Regions from separate parts of the Homo sapiens genome. Here region 2 is linked to region 1. The links are contacts of gene promoters, found by promoter capture Hi-C in blood cells and fetal thymus (Javierre and others, 2016). All regions are on one chromosome and are shown on one strand. The core of a region is centred on a gene start or on the middle of the fragment in contact, and the rest is flanking DNA. Distances in the headings are between cores, read along the strand shown.

Region 1 (7,781 bases), core at 1,744-4,243:
AGGCGCATGCCACCACGCCCAGCTAATTTTTGTATTTTTAGTAGAGACGGGGTTTCACCATGTTGGCCAGGCTGGTCTTGAACTGACCTCAGGTGATCCACCTGCCTCGGCCTCCCAAAGTGCTAGGATTACAGGCGTGAGCCACCGCGCCCAGCCTGCATTTTTTTCTTCATAGAAGAAAACAAAAGTAAAACTTCCCAAATTATGTTTAACTTATAACACATTTTGTAAAGACCCCTTAGGTTAACCATTTTGGAAGTCTACATTGTTCTGAAGAAAAAGATATGCTTTCAAAACACTATCTAGCAATTCCTAATCATTTTTCTATTATAAAAATTAAAATTCAAAAGTTATTGCCACAGTGCTTGTGGCAGTAAACAGAATGTAAAATGTATCAAAAGACTAAATTAGTGTCATGAAACATAAACATACTAAATAATCAAATAAATACTGGACCCTTAGCACAGAAAATTATTAAAAGGTTGATTTGAGTGTTAAAATTTGTAACATTAAATTACCTTCGTATTTCAAACATTACTTTTTCTAAACCAAACCAGAAGTTAATCAACTTTTCCTCTCCTTTAGGAACAAAAAGGATATTTAAGATATTTTCCAAAACAGTAAAAACAACTTAGTGTTTCAATCTAGTTACAACAAACCCTGTTGATCCTGTGCATTTCACTGAGGCGCTACACGCACCCAAAAATCATCATCAGAAAGAGAACTTGAACTTCCTGACTCAGAGTCTGGCTCACTGAATCCACCTAAGTCCCATTCAGTGCTAGACTCACTTGGTATTTCTTCTTCTTCAGTGAGGAAACTCTGACCAGGTTCAAGGCAGGAAGGATAAACACGAGCAGAGAGGCAAAAAAAGTTAGAATCAAACTGCAAGAGGCCTAATGTGGTACCTATATTAATCCATTGGTCTCCCCTAATATCATATTCATACACAGTCACCCGGTTCTTTTTCCACTGTGGGGTGCGAGAGGTGATGAGCAACAATTTTTGGCCATGCTTGATAATTCTGTAGTTGTTGGTCTCTGAGACCAAGGGAATATTATTCATTTGCCTCCATTCTGCCCTAACTGGGTTGTAGACCTTCATGACTGGGATATCACAGATACAATAGATCTCCTCATTGAAGACGCAGGCTTCCTGAAAGTCATTGCGCTTCAGAGAAACGCACTTCAGCCACATATTGTGGCTAGGATCATAACAGAACATGCGCTTACTGTTGAGAGCATAGAGATAGTCTCGAATTACCATTAGGTCAAAGGATAAAAAAGAATGGGGCAGTGGAGCCACCAATGCCCACTGGTTTCTCTTAACATTGTAGCATTCCACTTCCTTCAACTTAACTCCAGTAATAGGGTCTCGCCCCCCCAAAATGTAGATATAGCCATTGAGATATGCCACATCCATGCCCTCACGACACAGCAAGCGATCTGCAAGTTGCTGCCAACTATTCTGAGCTGGTTTATACACCCAGAGGTCTGTCCTGGGCTGAGCAGCTAGATAGATGTCATGGTCAGGAGAGATACAGACAGCTAAAGTGGTGACAGTCCTAGTGTGAGCCAGACAGGTCAAAGGTGACGGCACTTTGTAAAGGTCCCCCGAGTATGGATCACAGCAGAGAAAGGGATCTCTGGGGTGTCCAAAGAAGATCACCATCTCCTTGGCACACATACCCAGTCTCTGGGGTGGATTTTCTGCTGCAGATACAAGAGAGTTGCTGCTGCTACTGCTGCTGCTGCTGTTTGGCACTGGCACCAGAGACTTGTACAACAGGTCACCATAGCGCATCTGCAGGGCCCCTTCAATAACGTCCAGGCAGTACTTCTTCACGATGGGCTTGGTCAGCAGCCCTTCTAAGTAGTCCTGATCTTCTTCAGTGAAGTGCATCCAGCGCACGCACTTGAAGACTTCTGCAGCACTGGGACCCCGCTCTTTGGGAGCAGCCTCCAGCCACTGCACTGCCACATGGCACACTGTCTGCTCACTCTCCACGTCCAGACTATCCAAGCGCAGGACAGCCAGCAGCTGGGCCAGGGTCAGATCTGCTAGAGTCTCCTCCCGAATTGAACCCATGTGGCTGAGTTGCTTGAAGTTCTGAGCTATATAGGACTGGGCCTGGGATCGCAGCTTGCGATGGCCAAAGGCATCTGCAAACTTGAGGATGGCGGTGCAGTTGGTCAGGTCAAGACGTCGGGCTAAGAAGGAGGCACAGGCTTCCCGCACATATTCCAGCTGTAGCATGTCGGAGGCCGCGTACAGGCGCTCCACGTTGGCCTCACTGAGAGACACACGACCCGTGTAGCAGTAGTCGACCAACACCTCGAAGGACTCGGCGTCCACATCGTGCATGGTCACGCTGGCCTGCTGGCTCTCGTACATGCCACCTGTGAACATGCTCTTGAAGTAGGGACATGCCGCGGCCAGCACATTGCGGTTGCAGGGGAACAGGCGACCCGTGCCAGGCCCGCTGCCAGGCGTCACCACCTCGATGGTCACATCACACAGCAGCCGCGCATCGTAGAAGGACTTGAGCTGTGCCAGCAGGGCTGCAGAATGGGCCGTGTCCTTTAATTCCTCTGGACCCGTGAAAAAGGCCGAAACTGTGGGTTTGTGAATCTTCTTGGGCCGCTTCCCACCACGGGGACTGGCTAGGCGGCGAGAGCGCGGGGCGTCTTCCCGGGACTGCATGGTGGAGATGGCGACGGGCGCTGATGGCGAGAAACGCTGCAGGACCCGGCTCTGGCTCCTCCTCAACCTTCCCTCGCTGACGCTAAGATAGCAGCGTCTCCGAAGAGACAGCAGCACGAGCCCATTTACTGAATTCAACCCTACCCCGCAGAACCGCCTCCCGTTATCGTTTAGACAGTGGCTGACTCACCCTCTCTCACTCCCGCGTCCTTTCTCCGCGTCTGCTCGCCTTCACAGGACCCGCTGGCTTGGAGCCGCAGAAGCCGCTACTGCAGCGTGGGCGACAATGCTAGGCGCCCAGGAGAACTACCGCTCCCAGGTTGCCTTTCGCGCCCCGAGGGCTGCTGGGACTCTCGGACTCCCGGGCCGAGACCGAGGGAAAGAATCCGCTTTGCATGTCGGGAGTAGTAGTTTGTGTAATATCGCGATCCTTCTCTGGTGTTCCTTGTTTTAGCTGACGACACTCGAGAGCGCCAATTTTCCTAGATTCGATTTTGTGGTTTGGAACTGTGGTTTTGGAATCCAGAGTAGTCGCCTCGTTCTAGTATGTATTGTTTGACTTGTCTCTTTGAACTGTTTCTTCTTTTGTAAGACGTGAACAGTAGTATTTCATAGGATTGTGTGAAGATTACATGAGTTGGTTATAGGACGCTGTTAATAAATATTTGTTGGTTTGTAGAATAATTACTCAGTTCTTAGAATTATAAAGGTTCGATAAGTTTTCTTCCAGCCTTTATTAAAAAAAAAAAAAGGAAGCACCACTAATTTGAAATTATGAGCCTGTAGGAAAACAAAAAACCCCCCAAAACAGAAAACCTTGCAAGTTCCAGCAGAGATCCCTTTTTAGGGGCGTGTGTGTGTGTGTGTGTAAATTAGATTTTATTTTTAGGTTTACGGAAAAATTGAGCAGCAGGGACAGGGAACTTCCATATATCTCTCCCCACTTCACAGTTCCCTTATTATTAACATCTTGTATTAGTGTATGTATCCATTAGAAGTGATTTTTTTTTTTTTTTTTTTTTTACTCACTATGCCTCTCCCTGGTACCAAAAGATAACTCAGGGTTTGTAGGATTGGTTGGCTATCGCTGGAATTAGATCCCTGGCTTTTTCACAATTGCCTGTCCTTATTTGCCATGACTAAAAGGAGACCACCTCCAGTCACCTGACTTTGAGACTTTCCTTCCATATCTGCATTTCAAAACCTGAAGTCCTCTGTAGCCACTTCTCCCACTTGGTCTCTCCAATATTCAGTACCCCTTTCCCTTTTTTACACAAAAGAAGAGACATGCTTTAGGGGGTCCTCACCCCAAAACACAATGGAAGCCAGAGGCCTGGTTGGTAATTTAGCATCCTTTTAGACCCAGTGGCTCAAGCATTTCTCCCCTTGCTTGTATGAAGTTGCCTCTCCATCAGAGCTGACTTTATTTCTAGTCATTCACTCAACCTTTACTTACCCCGTGCAGTTCAGACATTAGAAGTCACTGAGAACACCTAACACGTTTCCGCTTCGGACTCACCTCCTGTGAAACCCTGCCACTGTCTTCCTCTCTCATCACTGTCCACCGTAGTCAAAACAATCAAGCCACTCTTCTTCCCATTCCCTCTGAAGGACAACCTTGTGACTGAATCACCGTCACACAGTCATTCACATTTCCTCACTCTGACATCACCAGAACTCCTCTCAGAGACCTTGATATCACCTTTGTAGATGGTTCTTACCTCAGGAGTACAAATGGGGAATTTTAAGCAGGATACACTATTGCAGATTTTCAACAGCCTATTAAGTTGAAATCTCCACTTAAGTTAACATGGCCCAAATCATTGAATTCTTAAGCACTCACCCAAACTTGCATGTTAGCACAAGATAAGGGAACTAACATTTATAGAGACAGCCAGTTTACTTTTGGAATTGCACGTTATTTTGGTATGCTATGGAAAGAAAGAGGTTTATGACAACTGAGGAGTACCACTCAGAACCCAACTCACTAACTTATTTAAGTCTTTTTTTTTTTTTTTTGAGATGGAGTCTCGCTCTTGTCACCCAGGCTGGAGTTGCAGTGGCGCGGTCTTGGCTCACTGCAACCTCCGCCTCCCGGGTTCAAGCGATTCTCCTGCCTCAGCCTCCTGAGTAGCTAGGATTACAGACACCCACCACCATGACCGGCTAATTTTTTTTTTTTTTTTTTTACTTTTAGTTGAGATGGGGTTTCGCCACGTTGGCCAGGCTGGTCTCAAAATCCTGACCTCAGGTAATCCACCCGCCTCGGCCTCCCAAAGTGCTGGGATTACAAGCGTGAGCCACCGCGCCCAGCCCCCCTGTTTAAGTCCTTACAGCTATCCAGAAATTAGCCATTCTCAAAAATCAAAGCTCACACTAGTGGCTGGACTAACAAAGCTAAAGGAAACTTAACTGGCTGAAAATATGCTAAGGTTGCTGCTTCCCAAGAAAACACCTCCTGAATCACGTGTATACTTCTCCTTGCTCAACCTACTCTAAAGACAGAAACTCTTAAGAAACTTAAGATATAACAGCTGCTAGCACCTGAGGCTGAAAAAGCAAAAAAGCAACAAGCTGGATGTTTTTTCTACTCAGATGGGCTTTGGAGACACCTAGACATCATTGATTTCTCTTGGTCCCTCACCCAAAATTTATTCTGCAGCCTCCATGAGATTACACATTATGGCAAAGAAAATCTTTCTCCGCAAATATTGTTGGGGATGCCCTAATACTGAGCAGTTAACTTCAACTTGCCCCATCTGCCAGAAACACAATCCTAGTCAACATGTAAAGTGGGACAAGCATGAGAGTCAACTCTCTCTAGTCCTTGTTTTCATTGGAAAATATATCAACTCTCAAAGTCTTATGGGTACAAATATGTTTTAACCATAGTTGGCATGTTTTCAGCATGGTTAAAAGCTTTTCTCTGTAAACAAGCTACTATCACCACTGAAGTTAACCTGATACCAGAAAGAATTTTCCCCTCCTAGGGATCTCTGTTTTTTTTAATAACAGTGGAGGAACTCACTTCAGTAGTAAGGTTATTCAGGATCTTCAACAAGTACTTCCAATGTTACAAAAACTGCAGTCTCCTTACCAGTCCTCTGGAAAATGAAACAAGCAGGCCAGTGGTACCGTTATATTCAAACTAGCCAAACTCTTTAAGGAACTCAACCTGCCCAGAGTCTCATGCCTAATGGCCCTTGACTCTTCTATTATCCCCAATTTCTCAGCATGTACTAAATGAAACTTAATTCTTAACATGATTAATGAGTCTCTTGAAATCTCCAAACTCAATGACTCCACTTTTTCAGGATCAAGTGTAGGAAAAAATGTAGGAGCACTTTTATCCCTAATAATAACCATTTTCTCTTCCACCACTTCCCAACCAGCCTTACAAACTGCGTTCAGTTCCACACAAAGACTCTGCTCTTCTGAGGGATCTACCCAGTTGTTAATCCCAGTAATTGTTAATAATTACTATACCTCAGACCCCACCTGTTTCCCCATAGGATACCACTTTTCATGCCTTCCCCAAGGGCATTTGGACTGATTGTCTGGGACTTCAAAATATTTAAAGCTGCTATCCCACCTGTCAATGGTGTGTCCTTCTGGAATTACCTCCAAATTGAGGCAACTACAGGGAATTGGGGAAAACCTCCCAGGGATATCAATGATTCTCTTTTCATATGCACCATGAGGGCCCTTGACACCCACTATGGCATTAATACAGTTAAAAAGGATAGTTCAAAAAAAAAAGAAAAGGTAGTTCAAGCCTCTCCTTAACCTTTGTAGAAGAAAATTATACCACTTTGGCCCTAGAAGTACAGAAAATAAGTTTAAACGCACAGGTCCAAATTGTTATGGCCAATCCTACAACTTTCAACTTCCTTCTAGCTAGACAAGGAGATATCTGTGCCATAGCCAAAATCTCTTTTTGCACTTGAATAAACACAACAGGACAAGTGAATGCTTAGTTACTAAACTCAAGGAAAAGGCTAGTTGGCTTTCTAAGGTAAATTCAAATAGCCTGAGGCATGTTCCCCTGGGCAAGATTTAGAAATAGAAGACCCGGTTTTGAGCTGTATTACAAACATTACTAATTGACATAGTTTGGATATTTGTCCTCGCTCAAATCTCATGTTGAAGTGTGATCCCCAGTGTTGGAGGTGGGGCCTGGTGGGAGGTGTTTGGATCACGGGGGCGGATCCCTCATGAATGACTTGTGCTGTCTGTCCACTTGGTGATAAGTGAGCTCCCGCTTTGAGTTCCCGCAAGATCTGATCGTTTAAAAATATGTGGTACCTCCTCCACCCATTCTCTCTCTCTCTCTCTCTCTCTCTTCTTCCCTCTCTTGCTTCCGCTTTCACCATGTGACATGCCTGCTTCCTCTTCACCTTCCACCATGATTGTAAGCTTCCTGAGGCTTCCCTAGAAACTGAGCAGGTACCAGTACCATGCTTCCTGTAAAGCCTGCAGAACCGTGAGCCAATTAAACCTCTTTTCTTTATAAATTACCCAGTCTCGGGTATTTCTTTATAGCAATGAAAGAATGGCCTAATACACTAATTATTTTCCTGTTTGTAGTCTTATACCTTGCAGTTGGGCAGTACATCATGCCTAGTCTTAAATACTACTACACAGCTATTTGTCTTCACAAATTATTATTCAACAATGTATCATGATCTGGTAGACCAAAGGGTGACTCTGCTTCCAACTGACTTCCCAGACAGAATTTCAATCTGAACTGACAATTTTACCCGTGGAGATCAAGATCATGGAATTAAGAAATTCCACAAAGTTTTGTTTTCCTAAATCTCCCAACTCTTTTGTGCTCTGGGAAATGGCTTACACAGTGAACCATCCTTCCTGTATGACGTAGATGACTTTCTGTCTACTTTTTCTCATGCCTACCATAAGACTCACTGATGACCTCCCTACCTTGTTTACCTGTGAAAAGGCCAAACACAGCCTTTTCATTTTTGCCTGAACCTGCTGGCAAGACCAGACACGAGTCTCCCACTTCCTGTCATTTATATCATGAATCATTAGCTGAAGTTAGAGCTATTAGTCCACCA
Region 2 (7,781 bases), core at 2,287-4,786, 53 kb after region 1:
GTACATTACTCCATATACCACTGCAAAAATGATTCAGGCACAGAAAATGCTCTGTAGCCTAACTTTTGTGAGGTACCCCTTCCTAAAACATTCATATATGTGATTCATTTAAAATAGAATTGCAGAATCATAGGTGTTTCAACAAGTATAGGCATGAATGATTCTGTAATAAGCTAAACAAGACAAAGCTCCACCAAGATGCTTGGAACATGCTAGAACTGAGTTAAAACTGAATATGGTATATTTCTTATCCCTCATATAACTAAAAAACATTCATAAATATATATATGTATATATACATATATATATATTTTTTAGAGACAGGGTCTCACTCTGTCACTCAGGCGGGAATGCAATGGCGTGATCATAGCTCATTGCAGCCTCAAACTCATGGGCTCAAGTGATCATCTCTCCTCAGCCTCCCAAGTAGCTAGGACAACAGGCATGCACAACCACACCTAATTTTTTTTTTTTAATTTTTATTTTGTAGAGGCAGGGTCTCACTATGTTGCTGAGGCTTATCGTGAATGCCTGGCCTCAAGCAATCCTGCCTAGGCCTCCCAAAGTGCTGGGATTACAGGCATAAGCCACCATGCTCAGCCTAAAAATGGCATATTCTGGTGTCTAATATCTAATCTGAAGAAATTTCAAGGTACCACTCATAAAATGTGTCCCCAGCATCCTATTATTCCAAAGACTTCAACTTAATTTTGTCATATTTACTTTCAAGGCAAAATGGAACCCTTCTATGTTGATAAAATGTTTTATATATGGTAAGATTTGAGGACTTTACATATTTAGAGGAATTCTTGTTTTAGATATATTATTAGTATGTCTTCATCAAAAAGATGTGAAATCCGTTAAAGCCCCACCTCCACAGATCTCATTTTAAACACTAGGGTATGCCTCCCCTTTCTCCAAATCTTCTAGGTTTCCTGACAAGTTGTACAGTTGGCTGATTCTAGTTTTCTGTCATTTCTCCCTTCTTTTTTTTTTTTGGAGATGGAGTCTCACTCTATCGCCCAGGCTGGAGTGCAGTGGCGTGATCTTGGCTCACTGCAACCTCCTCCTCCCCGGTTCAAGCAATTCTCCTGTCTCAGCCTCCCGAGTAGCAAGGACTACAGGCGCACACCACCACACCCGGCTAATTTTTTGTATTTTAGTGGAGATGGGGTTTCATTGTGTTGCCCAGGCTGGTCTCGAACTCCTGACCCCAGGCAATCCACCCACCTTGGCCTCCCAACATTTCTCCCTTCTTTAACATTAACAAACAGAGCTGACATGAGAAAAAGACACAAAGTTCTTAGAACATTGTGAACTGGATACACAGCTATTAAGAGTCCTTGGTATTTCAGATATCTCAAGCATTATTATCAGCATGGTAACTTTAAGGTTGATTCCAGGTATAATTAAATATCTCATGATAGTAAACGCACAAAGGCTTTTGAAAAGTTTAGATTGCATTTTGAAATAAATATGATGTGATATCTTTAAATTTTTACTGTAATACTGTGCAAATTGTTTAGATTTAGAAATGATTTTATTGCTCCTTAAGCATTCATTCAATTCTTATTCAGGGAATACACAGAACATAGGTAGTATTTGGGAAGGTACATCTTATTATTACCTTGATATAATTATATCATAACTGTGAATTTAAATATAAAAATAATTTAATATTTATTAAATTAGCTAAATGCTCTCATTGAGATTATCTGAACTGACATGGTCAAAATAAAATACAAAAAAATATAAATACTAAATAGAATACTAAAATATAAGCATAATATAACACTAAAAATAATACTGTGTTTTAATACTTTAAAACTTATCATCACTGAAGGGTTTGATTGGGTTTTGTTTTCAGTTAAAGCCAATTTTTCACACTCCTTCTCCATTGTTCTAAGATGACTTTTAGTTGGGCCGTCTCTTGATTCAGAGTTCTGAGTAAAGAGTCAGAAATTCCAGACCACGTGCCCTAAGGTGCATCAGGACTAGACTGGAGGACCAAATAAATCTCAAGCAGAGCAATAGTCCAGGTGTGGTGGCTCACACCTGTAATCCCAGCACTTTGGGAGGCCAAGGCAGGCTGATCCCTTGAGCTTAGGAGTTCAAGACCAGCCTGAGCAACATGGTAAAATCCTGTCTCTACAAAAAATACAAAAAAAAAAAAAGAACAATAGTGATTTTACTTTCTGAGTCCTGTTTGAGGTAGTGCTATTCAGCAGGCAAGAGTGTGTACTAGAAAGTGCTTTAAGAGATAGGAAACACAGTTCTAATTCCAGTTTTATGAATAACTAGCAGTACAAGCCTTGGTAAATTATTTAAAGTTCCTTGGGTTTATATAAGAAAACTGGGCTCTACCAGGGAGGTTGAGGCTTCAGTGAGCTGTGATCACACCACTAGACACCAGCCTGGGCAACAGAGTGAGACCCTGTCTCAATTAAAAAATAAAAAAAGAAAATTGGGCTCTAATATTCATGATTCTAACTGACAAAAAATTAAGAATCAACTTATGATGAAGAACAATATACAGAAATTCAGGCCACTAAAGGATTATGTAAAAACATAAATTTATATTATATATATCTTACATTGTTAAGATCTAGAATATGAGCGGTTCTATTTTACAGTAACACTTCCAATATTAAATGTTTTTTCAACTGTGTTCAAGGCTCTTTGATTAGTGTTATGAGGGCTATAAAGATGAAATAAACCTTATCCCCTGATCTCAGGAAGCTTACCAGTTAGTAGGTTCACCCTCTCTTCAAGCACCCTTGCCCATGGGGGTCCCCTTTCAGCAGAAATTCTTGCATTCTAATTCAAAGAAAGAAAACATTAGAGGTATAAGCTACCTGATGTCCAAAGCCATACCCAGAAATTCATCTCCATCTATATCAACCTTTCCCTTCTGCCATAGCTGTAGCTTAATCAGAGGTGGGCCAAAGGCCTGTGATATGGGACACCAAATACATCTACTAATGTCTCCAAATCAAGACTCCCGTGTTCCCAAATCCATTAAACAGCAGCACCATCCATTTAGTCAACTGTGATGGAGATTGCTAATTGTGCCCTCATCCATTCTCCTTCCTTTTAGTAATAGAGCTTTTGGGATATGGGATAAGTGAGAAGGCTAAGCCAGTAAGTTCCCAGAGGAGAAGGCAAGGGGATTGGAAAAAGTTTAGGGATTAAGGGAGAGAACCCTGGGCACCTTGGAGGCTTAATTTCTGCCACTCCTAGGAATACTAGACCTAATAGCAAAAATATGAGGCAAGTTTGTGTCTCTCTGTGTTAAAGGTATGCAGGGGCCCATTTGTTTATTAAAAAATCATTATTCAGCATGATATGAAATTTAACTTTTGGCTGTGAATTTATTGTGGAAGGATAATTGTAGGGATATCTGAAATGACCATGATAACAATAATGCCTGCATGACATTGTGAACCACCTGAATCTGAATACAGAAAACCGAACATGTTTATATTAAAATATATTCATTTATTAACACTATTTATTAATAGAGCTCCGTGAGTTTTAGCAAGGCACATCCATTTAGTGACAATATTTCCCAGTTCATCTTGCAACTGGGCATGGTGATATGATTAAGTTCTCCCCAATAAAAAAAATGGCAAAAGTGATGTAAACGTCCTTTAAAATGAAAAGATTTTTTGCCTTCCATTTCCTCTTTCCCCTTTTTCACAGGCTGAAAACACAGATACAATTCTGGTGAATGTGCTTTGCTCATGAGGACAGACAACTCACTGGGGGTTGGGAGGATAAACGATAAAAGAACCTGGGCCTGTGAACAACCCCATGGGGCAGAACTAGTCTGCAATGCCTGGCTGTTCACTTCTGGACTGAATGTATATACAAAATGGTTTCTACCTTACATTCCAGGGCCTCTTTGATATGGAAGTTTGGCCTGTACTCTAACACAACATCCAAGCAAGAAACGGGAAATCACTTTAGTCATACTCCCTACAGCTCCCTCATCTCCAAACATACAATTTTAGGTCCAGATCAATTTAACTGACTTATCTGTTCCTTCCTCATCAATTCCATAACTACTCCCCCTGTTGAGAACCACATTATGTCACTGTCTGGACTACAACAACACATCCCTTTAAATGTTCTTCTTGCTGCCACAATCTTGCACTGTCAGTACATCCAGAAGGGTCTCAATAAAACAAATCCGATTTTGTCAAATCCCTATTTTAAAATTCTCAATGAATTCACATTGTATGCAAAAAAAATCAAAAAGTCCAAACTCCTTGACGGCATATAAGACCTTCAAGAGCTGATGCCTACCAACTTTTCCAGCTTGTTCTTATGCCAAGCTTCCCCTTCCATCCTAGGATCAGGTTACATCAAAATACATGCTGTACTCTGAACATTCCCACCTTTGCAACTCTGCAGTCTCTGTAGAATCTGCCACAATAGGAACTATAACCTTTATTGAGGTTATTTGCTTACCTATTGGTTTTCCTCAACATTTCCCAACTTTATCTCTTACAAGCGATCAGAGTCCTAGAACCCACAGGGAATTTTCTGCCAGAGAATACATAAAATATTGCCACTTTCCACTGGATTTTTAAAAAAGTTATTACTATCTAAATTACTAATATAAAGAGAGAAGCATACCAATGGGGTTTCTAAGTTGGTACACTGCAGTTCTTGGGACTCCTGGCAGTCATTTTAGCTGTCAGGTGATAAAAATCTAGCCTGACAGATGATGTAGTAGAGATTGCTGTTTGTATCCCAATGTTCTTTCTCAGCGTTCTTCAAGAAGGAACCACTGAATTTTAACTGGATACATGTTGACAGAATAAAGACTACCTTTTCCTTGCAGCTAGGTGTGGCCATGTAGTTAAGATTTGGCCAATGTCATGTGACCAGAAGTGATATGTACAATTTCCCTTACAGAACAGGGTCATGCCCTTCCAACATCCCATCCTGATGGCTGGAATATGGACATGAGGGTGAACCACCTTGGACCATGTGAAACAGGGTAACACCCCAAGGGCAGTAGAACAGGAAGACAACAAGCCTGGGTCTCAGATAACTTTGTAGCTCAGGATCCACATAAAAGATTGGACTGTTATATGAGAAATCCTTTTAAAGATCTATAAGGTCTCTCTTGCATACAACCAACTTATGTGCTAACTAATGTATAAAGTGAGAGAAAACCTCATCCTATGACATATTCTCTGTACTAATAAAGCCTTGAAGACATTGACACTCTGGATCAGGCTGTGCCTTGAGGTGAGAACCATTGCTATTTGCTAGGTTCCCCAAAATTAACGAATAATTTGTCCCTAAAAGAATATTCTTAAAATATGGTGGGTCTGGCTGGGTGCGGTGGCTCACACCTGTAATCCCAGCACTTTGGGAGGCCAAGGTGGATGGATTACGAGGTTAGGAGTTCGAGACCAGCCTGGCTAACACGGTGAAACCCCATCTCTCCATTGGAGAGACTCCCCACAGAGTAGGAGAAAATGTCTCAGATATGGAGGAATAATATGCAACAATATCTGTTCCCTGCCTGCCCTGTGCCTTGGACCATGTTGAATCCACAAGGGTAAAGTGAGAAACAGAAGCTGTTGGCAAAGGTCTAGGTGACAAAATAGCCCAGAGTTAAGAAAAGGGCATAAAACCTATTGCCTATAAGGTACTCCTCTAAAATTTGGCAACTTCTCTGAATGGTACCTTTTTGTTGTTATTTTTCATTTAAAAACTGTCTTGTATCTAATCAACTCTATGGTTCTCAAATAGATTATCAATTAATTCTCTTGGGATTGCTAGTCACCTTTTCTATAATTTTGCCTCCTAATACTTTCTGCTTTATTATATTTGCTGTAACAAATATTCTTTTAAAATTAGTTGTAAAGATGAAACAGTGTTGAAGTTTCAAATAGATATGGGAAGTAGAGATTTGATGAAAGGATATTTACATTCTGGTGATCAGATTTTTGGATTTCAAAGACCAGTCAATTTTCTTTTAGTGTTTAGGGGACTGATATAAGGCTGAAACATTTTTACATTTCCAATTTATGAACAATAAAACAAATAGAATAATTTTTATCTTACAGCTCATTCATTGTGTTTTATAGTTTTTCACTTCAGCACAAATTGGTAAAAATAACATCAGGCAAAGCACTGGTTCCTGGTTTAATGAGCAGGGTTTAAAAAATTGATTATATTTTTTGACTACATTTACTATAGATCCCTTTCAGGTAGATGCACTTTTCCAACCATTTGTTTTCCTATTTATGAAGAGACAATGAACTTTTGCTACTAAGATATATTTCTAGTAATGAGCCATGGTGCCAGTAGTTTGAAACATCTGAACCACGTATTTTGCTTTAAATCCTAATATATACATAGCCTTCTTGGACAATAATCGTTATCACTTACATTTGTATAACACGTAAGTTTCAAAGCTTTCATATACACTAGTGCACTTTATCCTTTGAATAGTTTACATTTCGTTACTCATTCTTGCATTACTCATCATGAGGAAATTAGAATTTCAGAAATGTCAACTTTGCCTTCATTCTGAGGTACTAATTTTTCACATTTCTTTCTGATGGTGAATGTATATTATTTCTTTTTTTATTTGTGTTTTTTTTGTTTTTTTTTTTGGAGATGGAGTCTCGCTCTGTCGCCAGGCTGGAGTGCAGTGGCACGATCTCGGCTCACTGCAACCTCTGCCTCCCGGGTTCAAGCGATTCTCCTGCCTTAGCCTCCCGAGTAGCTGGGACTATGGGCGCACGCCACCATGCCCTGCTAATTTTTGTATTTTTAGTAGAGACGGGGTTTCACCATGTTGGCCAGGATGGTCTTGATCTCTTGACCTCGTGATCTGCCCACCTTGGCCTCCCAAAGTGCTGGGATTACAGGCGTGAGCCACCACGCCTGGACGTATATTATTTCTTTCGCCCTATTTTGGGAATTACTCTTTCACCCTACAAACATTTGAGCTATGTGTCTTGTGAAAAATGCAAATTTCTTTTTGTAGATATGTTCTTGAGACCTTGTCACAAGAGTTTTTACCCTGGGTGTGTGGATGAACTTCAGAAATGTCATTATACCCTTAAAATTATGAAATTATGAACATATGAATTTTCCTGAAGAATGGGTCAAAAGTTTTCATCATATTCTCTATTAAGATCCAGGCACCAAAACAGAACAACACTGCTCAACTAGAGGAGATATGAGGGGCTATTATAACTTAATCCTAAAACTAAATTTAAACAAGTTATTTGCTAAATTAGTCTTCTATTTTACCTTTTTGAAAACACCAGTATTACTTACTGTTGAATTTAAAAACATGAAATAAAACTAAATCTTACCAATGGCAGTCCTACAAATGACATTATAGAAAGCATTTGCTAAACGATGTGCTGATTAATTGGAAAACTTAGAAAAGGGTTCTTGTCATGAAGATATTTCAACACTGCTAGTTCACTGCACAGCAAGAATTTTGTACATTTAGCAGAACCATTGAATTAGAAAGTCAGGAAACCTGGGTTCTAGTACCAGTTTTATTTATAACTAACCATGTACAAATCACTTATCTATAAAATAATGGTTAACATCTACTCCTTAATTCACAAATAGATCACAAAACCAAGATCCTTCCCAAGAAAACCTTACTGTAAACCAAGACATTCCCACTATTTAGACTAGGTTTTAACTCAAAGGTTAAGAACTCAAAGGTTGAGAAAGACAAACTGGAGCATTTGTCTTTTATTTACCAGTTGCATACCTTAATTCTGCAG

The links. The method cuts DNA at HindIII sites, captures the fragments that hold promoters and counts their contacts. A CHiCAGO score of 5 or more calls a contact.
Region 2: a fragment that was not itself captured here is called in contact with the fragment with the promoter of KBTBD6 in region 1 in 1 of 17 cell types (megakaryocytes); the score reaches 5.4 in megakaryocytes.

The regions. Positions count from the first base shown.
Region 1 is chr13:41,129,809-41,137,589 of GRCh38, forward strand. It overlaps KBTBD6 (kelch repeat and BTB domain containing 6), which reads right to left and starts at 2,994. Exons shown (of 1, transcript NM_152903.5): 1 at 1-2,994. The coding sequence starts at 2,703. The coding sequence ends at 679. KBTBD6-DT (KBTBD6 divergent transcript) reads left to right here and starts at 3,120. Exons shown (of 4, transcript NR_120423.1): 1 at 3,120-3,247. RefSeq lists enhancers at 2,647-2,696, 3,057-3,296. The HindIII fragment of the contact is 7,724 bases long and covers 1-5,620 here.
Region 2 is chr13:41,182,308-41,190,088 of GRCh38, forward strand. The region is part of intron 3 of KBTBD6-DT (KBTBD6 divergent transcript); the gene reads left to right. It overlaps KBTBD7 (kelch repeat and BTB domain containing 7), which reads right to left. Exons shown (of 1, transcript NM_032138.7): 1 at 7,527-7,781. Among named protein-coding and RNA genes, the nearest start is that of KBTBD7, 8.4 kb to the right of the region's middle. The HindIII fragment of the contact is 1,598 bases long and covers 2,738-4,335 here.